Regions from separate parts of the Homo sapiens genome. Here region 1 is linked to region 2. Evidence: promoter capture Hi-C in human tissues and cell types (Jung and others, 2019). All regions are on one chromosome and are shown on one strand. Each heading gives the region's core, a stretch centred on a gene start or on the middle of the fragment in contact. The rest is flanking DNA. Distances are from core to core; before and after follow the strand shown.

The links. The method cuts DNA at HindIII sites, captures the fragments that hold promoters and counts their contacts. A contact is called where the count stands out against the background at its distance.
Region 1: a fragment that was not itself captured here is called in contact with the fragment with the promoter of SLC35A1 in region 2 in 1 of the 25 tissues and cell types used here (H1 embryonic stem cells).

Annotation. Positions count from the first base shown.
Region 1 is chr6:87,765,799-87,768,605 of GRCh38, reverse strand. No RefSeq gene overlaps it. Among named protein-coding and RNA genes, the nearest start is that of AKIRIN2, 65 kb to the right of the region's middle. The HindIII fragment of the contact is 7,224 bases long and covers 1-2,807 here.
Region 2 is chr6:87,471,510-87,474,526 of GRCh38, reverse strand. SLC35A1 (solute carrier family 35 member A1) reads right to left here and starts at 1,553. Exons shown (of 8, transcript NM_006416.5): 1 at 1,508-1,553. The coding sequence starts at 1,523. It overlaps LOC124901357 (a long non-coding RNA gene), which reads left to right and starts at 1,582. Exons shown (of 2, transcript XR_007059668.1): 1 at 1,582-1,754; 2 at 2,029-3,017. RefSeq lists enhancers at 685-784, 835-1,004, 1,000-1,906 and a silencer at 1,455-1,594. The HindIII fragment of the contact is 15,167 bases long and covers 1-3,017 here.

The DNA of each region.
Region 1 (2,807 bases), core at 261-2,760, 290 kb before region 2:
TCTCAAAAAAAAAAAAAAAAAAAATATATATATATATATATATATATATATATAGAGAGAGAGAGAGAGAGAGAGAGAGAGAGAGAGAGCCCCTGAATGGTTCACTAACAATGAATTACATTCTAAGCTTGGTTGGACTAAGTTCTCTATTATTTACTGGTAATTACAACATATACCTTGATTTCTCACTCTAGTTAGCACTATAGGAAAGACATCCAGTAAGAGGCTAGTTTACCCCCTTTGTTAAGTCGTTAGAACCATTCAGATCCTTTGAGTCTGAGATAAATCGATACTACATCCCAGCTGTGAATTGCTGCTGCTTACTTCTTGGCTTCATCTCTCCTTCTCCTTCTTTGGTCTCTTGTCTTTATTTCTACATGGAGCCTTCAGAAAGGAGACATCCAAACCCAGGTCCTGTCTGTATTGTAGCAACATTAAAGATTCCTTGGGGCCCTGCTCTCCACTCATACATGTTTGCCTTGGTGTCCTATTTCCAGATCTTTGACTGCAGTCTCAAGAGGACAAGACAAAGATATTTATTCTTCCCAGTCTTCTTTTTCTTTTTGAGATGGTGTCTCACTCTGTCACCCAGGGTGGAGTGCAGTAGTGTGATCTTGGCTCACTGCAACCTCCACCTCCTGCGTTCAAGCAATTCTCCTGCCTCAGCCTCCCAAGTAGCTGGGATTACAGGCGCGCACCACCACGCCCAGCTAATTTTTGTATTTTTAATACAGACGGGGTTTCACCATGTTGGTCAGGCTGGTCTCGAACTCCCGACCTCGTGATCCGCCTGCCTTGGCCTCTCCAAGTGCTGGGATTATAGGCATAAGCCACCGTGCCCGGCCATCTTTCACAGTCTTTTAGAATTCTTCTTGCTCCCCGCTGCTGCCATCCCAACGCTCTGAATTAGGGAAGTGTGAAATGTTGTCACATATCACACATCCTGAGATCAGAGACTCCCATAGAACTTCTCTTCCGGAAGGTTTTACTTTTGAAGACACAGACCCTTTGAATGAAGGGGGAAGACATTGGGAAGAGAATGATAAGATAGGATTGCCCTCCAGCTTCTCCTTTAGAAATGTTTTCCTAGATTTTAGCTAGGGTGGGGAAAAGTGGCTGGAAGGGGGAACAAAAGGTATTTCCATTTTTGTTGCTTTGTCCTAGTCTCAAAAATATAGGCTCAACACATACAGCCTCAACATCAGATTCCATCCATGAGACTTCCCTGTCCATATTTAATGAGTTAGCATTCTTTATAAGTCTCTTTTATATATTCTCTTTGAAACTCTTTAAAGTCTGGCTGGGCGCAGTGGCTCATGCCTGTAATACCAGCACTTTGGGAGGCAGAGGCGGGCAGATCACTTGAGGTTAGAAGTTCGAGACCAGCCTGGCCAATTTGATGAATCCCTGTCTCTACTAAAAATACAAAAATTAGGCCAGGCACAGTGGCTCACGCCTGTAATCCCAGAACTTTGGGAGGCCGAGGTGGGAGGATCAGGAGGTCAAGAGATCAAGACCATCCTAGCCAACATGGTGAAACCCCATCTCTACTAAAAATACAAAAATTAGCCGGGCGTGGTGGTGGGTGCCTTTAATCACAGCTACTCAGAAGGCTGAGGCAGGAGAATCACTTGAACCCGGGAGGTGGAGGTTGCAGTGAGCCGAGATTGCACCACTGTATTGCAGCCTGGCAACAGAGTGAGACACCGTCTCGCAAAAAAAAAAAAAAAAAAAAAAAAAAATTAGCTGGGCGTGGTGGTGCACACGTATAGTCCCAGCTACTTGGGAGTCTGGGGCAGGAGAATCGCTCGAACCGGGGAGGCGGAGGTTGTAGTGAGCCGAGATAGTGCCATTGCACTCCAGCCTGGGTGACAAGAGCGAAACTCCATCTCAAAAAAAATTTAATTTAATTAAAAAAAATAAAGTTTAAGACCATCTATATATTTGTATTATTATGTTTTTATTATCCAAATCTGGAAATAAATACCTGTAAACTACTTTGCCAGAAAGTATTTTTCTAAGGAGATGCTCGTCTCAAAACACGAATGGATTCATACAACATCCAGCAACCCTGATGGGGCCCAGCCTCTGCTCTTTGCTGTTTGTATGTCATGATTTCAGCTCACATAACATCCTCACTGTCCCTTCATGACCCTCTCACCAAGGAGACCCATATCTAGTAAAATCAATCCAGCCTGCAGTCTTAAATAAACAAATATAACTGGAGAAGACAAGAGATTAATGACTGCAACCAAGAGAACATGAGCTTCAAAATTGTGAGGCACACAACATCAGATTTCACTGCTCATAATCTAATGCACCAACTTGCTGGGATCATCAAGAAAAAATATATAATTTGCTTTCTTTCTTTGTAAATGTTAAAAATAATTCAGCATTTTCGTTGAAACTTTGGCATCAAAACAAATTGTACAGTTGTAGCTCTACATTCCACATAATTATGAAGAGTTGTTTCACTTTCAGAGGTTAGAGTATATTGTCAAGTCTTGTATTCTACCTTGAAAATATTGTATAACCCAGATGAACTGTCACTTTTCCAGCTTTACTGCCACTGGTCCTTCTGGACATGGTCTTATCTTGCTGGGACTTCTCTAGGAGCCTCTTAATCAATCTTCCTATGTTCACCTCTCCAATCCTCTCTCCGTGCAGCAGCCCAGGCTAAAACATAAATTCTTTATATCATTTCCCTATTTAATGGCTCTCTAATGGCTTCTTTTGGAATAAAGATAAAACTTAGAATTATTATTTATTTATTTATTTATTTATTTATTTATTTATTTATTTTGTGA
Region 2 (3,017 bases), core at 304-2,803:
GCCAGTAACTATAAAGCTAGCCCACAACTCAACTGGCAGCCACATCTTAACCCTGCATTGTTCCCTGCTTCTCACGAAATTCTATTAGCTCCCATATAGTGTTTGTGTGGAAATGTCCCCCAAAAGAAACTTACAGTTTAAAATGTTTTTTTTCGGTTATGTTTTACTATAGTTTATGGGGACATTATTTGTAATACTTAAGAACTTAGAAATTCTGTAAGTCCCAGATAAATCCTTTGTGGATATTCGGAAACTATGGAAACTGTAGTTTTGTTAGGATTACAATCAAGGCTCAACAAATATGTATTGGCAATAAGCCTAAACCTTTACATTGTTGCAGCTATTTCAAGTAATGATTTGACTTCTGTAATTTATAAGTTTTCGTTCGGATCAATTTTGCTATCCCCATTCCATTTTAGTTATCAAAACAATTCTATTTCTTTTTCTTTTATTTCCTGTGTTGCTACAAAAAAAGGCTTTTAAGATTGGACTTATTTGAAATGAAACAGAAAGAAGACATAAGAGAAGCATATGCAACTAAAGACAATGCCCCTGGGCAGGGCCTGATGAGAAACATGGACCCCGCAACAGGGAAAATAACTTGAAACCCACGCAAGAAGATATTCCTTATGTATTCGTTCAATATTTATTCAAGGGTGAAGCCAAGTGCTCTATGGAGGAAGGGTGGAGCAAGAATCCGGGTGTTGCCCAACTTCTCCTGGTTAATGCACCACAGTCAAAGAATCCACCTCTGGTCCCAACTTACACACACTGCTCAGCAAAAAGTGGTGCGGAGTCAATTAGACTCGCCCTCCTTAAATGTCAATTAGTCAACAAATACGCCTTCACCCGAATGTGCCATCCCTCAGGAGGAGGGAGGTGGATCTCAGCTTCCACCCCAAATAGCAGCATACAGCATTCTCTATAATTACACACAGCATACAGGTGGGAACTGTTAACGACTGTTATCTTCCTTTCGTTACGATTTCAGTGCTGTTTTGACGCCCCAGTGATGTCTTTAGTGGTTGTTGCATGGCCCAGCCGCCGCATGGGATCTGCGCCCGGAGCCTGCCTTTAAGCCTCTGAGCATCCACAGGGTAGGAGGCGCAGAGGAGACCGGAGCCGCGGGGCCAGGGTGAAGAACTGTCCTGCCTCGCTGGGTAATGCGGTCCAGCCCCGGACCCACGCCCTGGCCTCTCTCCGGGTCCGCCGCAGCCCCGGCCTGTCAGAATTCGGTTCCCACCCACTCCCAGCTAGTGGAGGTCAGTGCGGTCTCTGACTCCGACCTGCCCAGCGCGGAGTCAGCCGCGGAGACTGCAGCCGCAGCGGAAGGCAGGCTGCCCTGACTGCCGGGAGCGGCTCCACGCAAACTCCTGACGCCTCAGCCAGGCCCCAGAGGCACTGGGCAACCAGGGTGCTCCGCTGCCCGACAGGGGCTGACCAGCGCAGATGCTCGCCCGCCGCCGCCCCCCGCGGACTCCCCACTCCCAGCAGACCCAGTTCTCACCTCTCGGGGCAGCCATGGTTCCCCGACAGCCCCCCGCGGAACTGACGCCCGCCCCCTCCGCGCCCCCGCGCAGGACACCGGGGACCGCCCCTTGTGGTCATAGAGACGAAGCCGCTCGGCCTAGAGCGCCTCGCCGGCCTCCCGGTCGGCCACGCACTAAAACTGGGCTCAGGAATCCAAGCTACACCCCAAAATGGGGAGAACGCGGATCGAAGGGAGGCCTTCCCGGCCGCGTCCTAGGTGACAGGTGTGTGAAATTCGGTTGGGGAGGTAGTTCTGTAAACTGCGTCTCCCCGCCAGCTAAGGAAGTTGAGTGAAGGGAGCGTTGCCGTCTGGGAATCGTAGTCCTCACAAAGGCGTGAGTAGGCGGCAAATAAGGATTTGGGTTTAGCCTTGGGGATTCACTCCTGTCAAAGCTGTTAGAGAAGCTCCCAGAACTCGTAAAGTAACAGAAACTACTTGCGGCAACATTTGTAACTTCCACCTGGCTCATTATCTTCCACTGTTACCTTGTGTTCTAGATAAGTTATAATTTATTCTACATATCGTTCAGAAGTCTTGTGCCTGTTCCATATCGTCAGCAGTCATCGGTTGTATTTACCCAGCCAGGCATTCTAACTAATGATCTTCGCACAACAAAACGGCCTTTAAAAAATCAGATGTATCGGCCGGGCGTGGTGGCTCACGCCTGTAATCCCAGCACTTTGGGAAGTCGAGGCAGATGGATCACCTAAGGTCAGGAGTTCGAGACCAGCCTGGCCAATATGGCGAAACCCCGTCTTTACTAAAAATACAAAAAATTAGCCGGGCGTGGTGGCGCGCACCGGTAATCCCAGCTACTCAGGAGGCCGAAGCGGGAGAATCACTTGAACCCGGGAGATTGCAGTGAGCCGAGATTGCGCCCCTGCACTCCAGCCTGGGCGACACAGCGAGACTTCGTCTCAAAAAACAAAAAAAATTAGATATATCAACAGGCATTTTAACCACTATAATCTCCACTTTCACTAGGGGATGTTAATTAGCTATCATAATTGATATTAGAAATAATTCATTGGTGAAATAAATGATGTTCAAGATATGTGGATTGGTTTAAAATAATATGAAAATACCTCAGCACTTACAGGAATAGGGATGCAAGATTCTGAGCTGCCCAGCAGCCCACACCTTCTGCAGCATGTTCTTTCCCCAAAATTGTCCTTTTAGAGGGTTGGTTGTATACCATTGTCTTGTTAAATATACATATAGATATATCTGGTCTGTTAACATTGTTGGAACATTTTGCATGCCTTATTAGCATCATATTAATATTGGGAGGGGCTCCCAGGAGACCAGAGTTGACTTTGTAGAGGCAGACATTTGATTAATCTCATTTTGCAATAGTGTTGGACTTTTCCTCTACCTGGTAGTAAGTGTGCTCACTGGTGCTAATCTTCCCTTATTGTAATTGATACAGTTTCCACTAGTAGAATTATTCAGTTCTCTACTGTGTATGTACTTATGCATACATTTA